Linked DNA regions of Homo sapiens: region 2 is linked to region 1. The links are contacts of gene promoters, found by promoter capture Hi-C in human tissues and cell types (Jung and others, 2019). All regions are on one chromosome and are shown on one strand. Each heading gives the region's core, a stretch centred on a gene start or on the middle of the fragment in contact. The rest is flanking DNA. Distances are from core to core; before and after follow the strand shown.

The links. Contacts are between HindIII fragments. The study calls those that stand out against the background at their distance.
Region 2: a fragment that was not itself captured here is called in contact with the fragment with the promoter of KRT18 in region 1 in 2 of the 25 tissues and cell types used here (IMR-90 fibroblasts and lymphoblastoid cells).

The regions. Positions count from the first base shown.
Region 1 is chr12:52,946,957-52,951,231 of GRCh38, forward strand. KRT18 (keratin 18) reads left to right here and starts at 2,162. Exons shown (of 7, transcript NM_000224.3): 1 at 2,162-2,634; 2 at 3,372-3,454; 3 at 3,794-3,950. The coding sequence starts at 2,218. It also overlaps a transcript of KRT8 not described here. RefSeq lists silencers at 809-1,103, 1,861-1,980, 1,991-2,070, 2,111-2,160, 2,822-2,845 and 3 more, enhancers at 1,494-1,868, 1,557-2,150, 2,151-2,744, 2,568-3,767, 2,679-3,333 and 1 more, promoters at 1,750-1,829, 1,750-1,760, 1,838-1,920, 2,130-2,191 and a cis regulatory region at 1,838-1,920. The HindIII fragment of the contact is 11,259 bases long and covers 1-4,275 here.
Region 2 is chr12:52,211,925-52,216,610 of GRCh38, forward strand. It overlaps LINC00592 (long intergenic non-protein coding RNA 592), which reads left to right. Exons shown (of 5, transcript NR_027358.2): 2 at 120-232; 3 at 675-1,103. LINC02874 (long intergenic non-protein coding RNA 2874) reads right to left here and starts at 1,659. Exons shown (of 3, transcript NR_164133.1): 1 at 1,592-1,659; 2 at 618-678. RefSeq lists an enhancer at 1,523-2,084. The HindIII fragment of the contact is 5,317 bases long and covers 506-4,686 here.

The DNA of each region.
Region 1 (4,275 bases), core at 912-3,411:
CAGGTCCACTGGCCAGGCTTTTCCAGGGTCCCTTCTCTCCCAGGTCTGCCCTACTATTTGTCCTCCCCTTCCCCCTCAGCTGGTAGCTCGATAAGAATCAATAGGTCCACTCCAGAGCAAAGAACACAGCCAAATGTGTCATACCAGGCCCTGCCAGAAAAACGAGCTGCTGGAGCTGACAAACTTGAAGGCCAAACACCTAAGGGTTCCCCCCAACACTTCATTCAGCAGGGATGGTCATTCAGCTTCAGGGGGCAGGCAGCATGAAAGCCTCCCTACCTCCATCCTTCTCACACAGAGGCTGGGGAGAGCATCTTGGAGGATGCAGTCCCCTGGGGCCAGGCTTCTAATCCAGACAGCCCTTACAAGGGGGGACAGGGGAAGGACTGGCTTGGAGAAAAGTCCTAGAAAAGAGGGGAGGGGCACTGGCCACCAGGGCTGGGTCGCTGCTATGATGGTCCTAGGAGTGCCTGCCTGTCCTCTCAGGCCCCATGCGATGTAGGACACATTACTTTTATTTATTTATTTATTTATTTATTTTGAGTCAGAGTTTCGCTCTGGTTGCCCAGGCTGGAGCGCGACGGCACGATCTTGGCTCACTGCAACCTCTGCCTCCTGGGTTCAAGCGATTCTCCTGCCTCAGCCTCCTGAGTAGCTGGGATTACAGGCACACACTGTGCCTGGTTAATTTTTGTATTTTTAGTAGAGAAGGGGTGTCACCATGTTGGTCAGGCTGGTCTCAAATTTTTTTTTTTTTTTTTTTTTTTTGAGACAGAGTCTTGCTCTGTTGTCTAGGCTGGAGTGCAGTGGCATCGAACTCTTGACCTCAAGTGATCCACCCGCCTCGGCCTCCCAAAGTGCTTGGATTACAGGCATGAGCCACTGTGCCCGGCGATGTGGGACACATTATCATCTCTGTGAGAGATTTTTGGTCTCTTTTGTCACCGCCCTTCTCTCCCAGCTCCTAGAACTGGGCCTGGCTCACAGTAGGTGCTGAATGCATACTGGTTGAATTGTAAATGCTCAGGATTTGTTTAATTAAGGATGCAGGAAAGGTGATATACCGGTGTGCAGAAGTCAGGATGCATTCCCTGTCCAAATCACAGTGTTCCACTGAGGCAAGGCCCTTGGGAGTGAGGTCGGGAGAGGGGAGGGTGGTGGAGGGGGCTCAGAGACTGGGTTTGTTTTGGGGAGTCTGCACCTATTTGCTGAGTGAATGTATGTGTGTGTGCATTTGAGAGCACACCTCTGTATGATTCGGGTGTGAGTGTGTGTGAGGAAACGTGGGCAGGCGAGGAGTGTTTGGGAGCCAGGTGCAGCTGGGGTGTGAGTGTGTAAGCAAGCAGCTATGAGGCTGGGCATTGCTTCTCCTCCTCTTCTCCAGCTCCCAGCCTTTCTTCCCCGGGACTCCTGGGGCTCCAGGATGCCCCCAAGATCCCCTCCACAAGTGGATAATTTGGGCTGCAGGTTAAGGACAGCTAGAGGGACTCACAGGCCATTCCACCCGCACACCACCAGACCCCCAAATTTCTTTTTTCTTTTTTTTTTTTTTTTTTTTTGAGACAGAGTCTCACTCTGTCGCCAGGCTGCAGTGGCGCGATCTCGGCTCACTGCAACCTCCGCCTCCCAGGTTCAAGCGATTCCCCTTCCTCAGCCTCCCAAGTAGCTGAGACTACAGGCGTGCACCATCACGTCCGGCTAATTTTTTGTATTTTAGTAGAGAGGGGGTTTCACCATGTTGGCTAGGATGGTCTCGATCTCCTGACCTCGTGATCCGCCCACCTAGGCCTCCCAAAGTGCTGAGATTACAGGCGTGAGCCACTGCGCCCGGTCAAGACTCCCAAATTTCAAACTCGCCAGCACCTCCTCCACCTGGGGGAGAAGAGCATAATAACGTCATTTCCTGCCCTGAAAGCAGCCTCGAGGGCCAACAACACCTGCTGTCCGTGTCCATGCCCGGTTGGCCACCCCGTTTCTGGGGGGTGAGCGGGGCTTGGCAGGGCTGCGCGGAGGGCGCGGGGGTGGGGCCCGGGGCGGAGCGGCCCGGGGCGGAGGGCGCGGGCTCCGAGCCGTCCACCTGTGGCTCCGGCTTCCGAAGCGGCTCCGGGGCGGGGGCGGGGCCTCACTCTGCGATATAACTCGGGTCGCGCGGCTCGCGCAGGCCGCCACCGTCGTCCGCAAAGCCTGAGTCCTGTCCTTTCTCTCTCCCCGGACAGCATGAGCTTCACCACTCGCTCCACCTTCTCCACCAACTACCGGTCCCTGGGCTCTGTCCAGGCGCCCAGCTACGGCGCCCGGCCGGTCAGCAGCGCGGCCAGCGTCTATGCAGGCGCTGGGGGCTCTGGTTCCCGGATCTCCGTGTCCCGCTCCACCAGCTTCAGGGGCGGCATGGGGTCCGGGGGCCTGGCCACCGGGATAGCCGGGGGTCTGGCAGGAATGGGAGGCATCCAGAACGAGAAGGAGACCATGCAAAGCCTGAACGACCGCCTGGCCTCTTACCTGGACAGAGTGAGGAGCCTGGAGACCGAGAACCGGAGGCTGGAGAGCAAAATCCGGGAGCACTTGGAGAAGAAGGGACCCCAGGTCAGAGACTGGAGCCATTACTTCAAGATCATCGAGGACCTGAGGGCTCAGGTAAGGGGTAGGAGGGACCTCAACTCCCAGCCTTGTCTGACCCTCCAATTATACACTCCTTTGCCTCTTTCCGTCATTCCATAACCACCCAACCCCTACTCCACCGGGAGGGGGTTGGGCATACCTGGATTTCCATCCGCGCACCTAGCCACAGGGTCCCTAAGAGCAGCAGCTAGGCATGGGAGGGCTCTTTCCCAGGAGAGAGGGGGAAGGGGACAGGGTTGAGAGCTTTACAGAGGAAGTGGACAGCATGGAGGGAGGTAAGGAAAGGCCTGTAAAGAGGAGGAGACACTGGCTCTGGCGGAATGGGGACTATTGGAGGGTTAAGCGGATGTGGCTAAGGCTGAGTCATCTAGGAGTAAACAAGAGGCCTTCCTTTGGGAGGAGCCAATCCAGGGTGTAGGGGGCCCAGAGTGACCAGGTGCACTAGGGAAAAAATGCCAGGAGAGGGCCAGGAAGAGGACTTGTTAGTAGCGACTCACTTCTGGGCAGGCAGGCCAGCCAGCTAGCCAGCCTGCTGAGGCTTCCCAAGAGGGGCAGAGTGCTGGGATCTGGGAATCCAGGAAAGGAGGGAATGGGGTGGGGCTAGATGAAAAGGGATAGGTGTCCAGGGAGAGCCTCTGGCTATTCCTGGGACCAGGAAGTTTTCACTAGGATACATAACACTTTTTACACACTCACCCCACCCATCCCTGGCTTTCTATTCATGGAACAACCTCTCTCTACAATCCCTCCAGATCTTCGCAAATACTGTGGACAATGCCCGCATCGTTCTGCAGATTGACAATGCCCGTCTTGCTGCTGATGACTTTAGAGTCAAGTAAGTTTGGGGGCTAGAGAGCTGGGGGTCCAGGGGTGGAGCTAAGAAGGATCTGCTCCCCAGGCTGGGTCAGTTAGGGGCTCACAGTGGGATCCTGTTAGGTGTGGGTGGATGAGAGTCAGGGTCCATCAGTGTATTCATTTAACTGTTCATTTGTATAACCCCGTTTAAGAATACTGTCCTCCAAGTGCCAAGAATGGTGCTCAGGGGATTACCACCTAATTGCTGACTCAAGTTGCTGGTTTGCAATGGGCACAGAACTTCTCTTAGTAGGTGGCATGAGTTGAGAAGGTTCTGGATCAGAGATAGGGGCCCCTCTGATCACCTCCACTCCTATAGGTATGAGACAGAGCTGGCCATGCGCCAGTCTGTGGAGAACGACATCCATGGGCTCCGCAAGGTCATTGATGACACCAATATCACACGACTGCAGCTGGAGACAGAGATCGAGGCTCTCAAGGAGGAGCTGCTCTTCATGAAGAAGAACCACGAAGAGGCAAGCAGGGGCCACTGGCCAGGCCAGGGATTGAGGGGCCAAGAGAAGTCTGGGTCGGAGAATAGACAAGACAAACCAACTGCAAGTAGCCTTGCTAAGACGTTTAGAAATAGCAGCCTGGGCTCTTCTTAAATAAGACCGTTCTGATGAAGAGCATTCTCAGGGGGTCGAGTACACCCTGGCTCACCTGAATTACAGGTCAAAATGATATGGGTTAGAAAATGAGATGAGAACAGAAGTAGAAGCAGCTAACACTAGGAGCTGGGGGTGATAAAGGAATGACAGCAGATGGAGTTGGCAGCGCTTCCTAAAAGATGGTAGAAGG
Region 2 (4,686 bases), core at 1,914-4,413, 730 kb before region 1:
TCAGGTCGGAGTTTGGAGCCCAGGGCAGGGCTGAGGGAGGGGGAAGGGTGAGGTGGAGGGCTGGACTGCAAGACCAGGCAGGGGAACCGCGGCTTCAGCTCTGCCAGCACTTCCCTTAGGCCTCCCAGGCTGGTCTGCTCCACTGGCCCTCAGAAAGACTTGTCGCCTCGCCGAGCCTCAGTGTTCTCATCTGAAGAATAGAGTGGGCAAGGCCTTTCTCCTACACACTCAGGTGTCTGATTAGTGAACAGTCACGGTGTCTCCAACTGGGCCCTGAGTTATGGGAGAGGCAAGCCCATGACCCACCAGGCCCCACCAAGAGCCGTGCCACAGCCTGAGGTGGGCTCTCGGTGTTGACCAGCTCTTGGAGTACTTCAGGAGGAGGTGGAGGGACTGGGGAGTTCTAGGAGTGTGTCCATGATAAAGAGCCGCAAACAAGATCCCAGGTCCAAGGCTGCCTCACCTCCCCTGTGACATGGGGTGCTCTCTCAGACCCTTCCAGCTCATTGGGCTTTTGAGCCACCCCTGCGTAGTGGGACCAGGGCCCCCAGGGCTGGGAGGACAGGGAATATGGGGTTGTAGCTTAGGCGTAATGGGGTGAGGACCCCAGGACTCACCCAGCTCTGAAGGTTGCCAGATCTTTGCATCTTACTGTTCATCTTCTGCCTCTGCAGAGCCCTGAATGGGAAGAAATGGGTTCCATGTGCAGCAAGCCAGGAGAGATTTAGGCAACGAGAACCTCCAGTTCTGTCTTAGGGTTCCCAGCTTTCTCCTTGTCCTGAGGGAGCCGCTGAGCCTGTGGGAGATGAGGGGTGCCCATTCCCCAGTGCTTCTCACCCTCCCCCACCTGCCCTCCTGGGGTACCTTTGTCTGCCACTTGCATCCTATTGGAAGCTGTCCCCAAGTGCGTGTTAGGCAGGTGGCAGGTGCTGGAGCAGAGTGCACCACCCTCCGGCGATCACTGTGAGTTGGGGTAAGAGTGGGGTGTTCCTGCCAGCCCCAGGAGAGGGGAAAGCAAGCCCCCGTCCACCCTTGTGGGTCTCTGCTCCTGGAAAAGGTGCTCTAGCAGGCTCATCTGTGTGAGTCACTGTCTTCCATGTGGGGTAAGTTGAGCCCTGCCTTTTGGATCTCAAAATCCAGGGATGCCGACATCCTGGGTCTGGAGAAGGGAGGAGGCACAGGGCAGCAGAGCCCTGGCCTGTCTTTCCTGACGGGGTATGGAGCTGGCAGGACAGGGAGGCTAGGTGGCTGGTGGTGCAGGGCGTGCCCATCCCTCTACCTCCTTCCTCACAGCCCTGCACTGCTCTGTCCCGGTCTGGCCCCTCTTCTCTCCTCACTTTTTCTTCTCTGCTTCTCTTCTCTCTCACTCCCCTCCTATCCTCAACCTTTTCGTCTCCCTCCCCGCAGTCCTTCCCTCTGCCTCCTTTATTTCTTCCTTAACCCCCTGCCCTTCCATTTCCCATCTCCTCCTCCACCCTCCAGTTCTATTCCATCCACTTGCCCCACCACAGACCCGCCTCCCTGAGTTCAAGCTGCCCATTCTTCCTTCTTGCAGCCCCTGCCCATCTGAGCAGCAGAGTTCATCCCATACCCTGCAGGGAGTCCAGCGCCACCATGATGTCCCTCTCTTCCCTCCTTGAGGCTGGCTGGGTCCAGCCTGAGCTGTGCCACCTGCTGGCTCAGGCCAGTGGGATTGTGCCTCAGGCAGGCTCCTGCCCTTCCAAGCCAAGGGCTTGGCTGCAGACCCGACAGCGGCTCCCAGAGGTGAGGCTGGGGATTGCAGCATCCTGCCAGCTGCAGTTCCCTCCCTGCTGTACTCTCGTTCCTGATGTCCTGAAGGTCCCGCTTACAAGTCTACTGGTGGGCATGAACGTGCGAATGCTGTGTGGACACCTGGGCATAGTCTGTTGTTCATGCATGCACGTGCGCATCTGGTGTGTGTGCATGATTTGAGTGTGTACCTTCTGCCTTGAGTGAGCACCACCCCTGGGAACCGCAGTGTATGTGTGAGTGCTGAGTGCACATGACTGTGCAGGTGTGTGATGGAATTCAGGCTCCTGCAGACTTTGCATATTTGTGAGTGTGTACATTTGGGAGCATGTGCGATAGCACAAAGTCATGTGTTTCCCTGAGTGCTTGGAGAAGCTTAAGTGCCCTGCCAAGTGTGTGCTTCTCTGTGCCTGGGGACACCAGTGGGCACCGGAATAGCATGAAGCCACGTGGACATGTGTGAGGTGGGAGGGGGCTGTGGGCACTTACACAAGGCTGCTTGTAGCATGCACCTGTGTGCCCAAGAGGGACTATCTGCCTGTGTGAGTTATGTGCACATGTGTGTATTCACTGCACGTGTGAGGGATATGAGACCATATCCCTGTGGCACCATAAAGGCACATGTGAGCAGTGAGCAGGGCCTGAGGAAAGCTGTCTGTGTCTGCATGAGGAGATGCATCCTCACAGGCCCAGGGTGTGGCTGTGCTGAAAGGGGACATATTTAGTGATTTATGAACTTTTAAGGAAAAGCCTCAGCCCCCATTCAGGCCCCAGACACAGTGACCCCCTGCCCCCACTGCCACATCACTCAGGCCTGACATCAGCCAGGCACCTGAAACCACAGGAATGAGAGGTGATCTCCTTGCTCCTGCCACCTCACCTGCTCACCCACTGCAGGGCTGATGCCAGGGGACAGCAAGGATGCCTCCCGAAGCACCTACTGGGTGCAGGAGTGTGCTGCCAAGACCATGCTGCAGTCCAGGCCAGAGACCCCTCTGCAGCCATGGAGGCCACGCTAGCCCCACCCGCTGGCTGAGAGAGGGTTGCAGGGAGTAGGGATACCTGTCTCTGCCTTGGTGGACTTGGGGTGCAAGTGCCCCCTTTCCCAGGCAAGCCTGACTCCTTCAGGAGAGCTGGTGGGCTTCCCAAAGTCTGCCCTCTGGGACTGACTGGCCATGAAGCAGAGGAGAGGAAGCCGTTGATAAATGTGGGATGGAGGAATGAATGAAGAAACGGTGAGGCTGGGTGAGGTGGCTCACACCTGTAATCCTAGAGCTTTGGGAAGTTGAGGCAGGAAGATTGCTTGAGTCCAGGAGTTGGAGACCAGCCTTGGCAACATAGTGAGACCCTCTCTCTGTATTTTTTTTTTGAGACAGAGTCTCAGTCTGTCGCCCAGGCTGGAGTGCAGTGGCACGATCTCGGCTCACTGCAATCTCTGCCTCCCAGATTCAAGCGATTCTCATGCCTCAGCCTCCCAAGTAGCTGGGATTATAGGATTGTGCCACCACACCCAGCTGATTTTTTGTATTTTTTAGTAGGAATGGGGTTTCACCATGTTGGCCAGGCTGGTCTCCAACTCCTGACCTCAAGTGATCCGCCTGCCTTGGCCTCCCAAAGTGTTGGGATTACAGGTGTGAGCCACTGCGCCTGGCCCAATCTCTCTCTCTCTTTTTTTTAAATTTTAGAAAAGAAACAGTGGTTCCCAGGGGTGGTGGTGGCTGGCCCCAGGGAGTGCACTGAGGGTGAGTGGATGGCTGTGCTCGGTGCTAAGAGATTGGCCTTTGAATTCACTTCTGCCTGATCCTCATTTTTCTCCTTTCTACGAAAGATCAGAAATCCCCTTCAAGTTAATTATACCAATGAAATTCAGAGGTGTGCCTGGTGCCTGGCACATGGTAGGTGCTCAGGAAATGACAGGTGTCTCCTTCCTGAGAGCTGACAGCTGTCCTGAGCCCCTTCCAGAGCAACCCCTGGACCAGCCATGAGTCAGCTATGGCTGGGCAGCAGGGATCCTCGAGTTCCTGTTCTGGAAGCATGAGTCAGGCCCAGGTGGGAGAGGAGGGAGGTCATACTGGGGTCAGATGCCGGACCCAGGCAGGATCAGACAGGCGCCTGGCTGCCACCTTATCATGATGCTTGTTGCTAGTAACTGGATCTCAGAAGATAAGGCCCTGGGGCTGAATGAAGCATTCCAGCTCTGTGGGCCGAAATGTTGTTGACATGGGCTGTACGATGCGTAGATGCTTTTCAGATAGCACAGCCTGAAAAGGGCCAGCAAGCTCCCGAAGGCATTGCCTTCACAGCTGCTTTTGCCACTACTGCTGGGGGCAGAACCTCCAGCCCTAGAGCTTGCCCAGCCTGGGGACCCCATCACCTCCATGAGAGCTCCTGGATCTAGCTTGCCAGCCCAGAGCCCATCTCTGATTTCTTGAGAGCCTCTATTCTTTATCTAGATCATAGCAGTCACCAGTGAGGACCCAGATGTGCTTTCCACCAGGCTTTGGAGAACATCTGAGGAGTGGAAATTCCTATTTTAACCCTCTTTCCCACACCTCTGACTCTTGAGCAGGGGTCCATTGTCCGCTGTTGCTGCAAACTGTGACCGTTCAGTACAATGGACAGTGCTCATGACTGGGGTGGGGTGGGGACAAGCTTCTCTGCGCTGTGCAAAAGTCAGTGTTTCAGCCACACTAGGCATGTGCCCAGTGCCCAGCTCCTTATCTCTAGGAGCCATTGTCTCACTTGTTTCTTATGGCAGATAAAGATGGCTTATCCATCTCTTAGGAACAAAGCACGCCACTTTAGACAGTCACAAACATGAACGACCTTATTTAGGAATCAGGTGCCTCAGAGAGAGCCTTTGCAGGCTGAAACATGGAGGGAAGTGGGGACTTATCTCTTTGCCCCCCAGATATG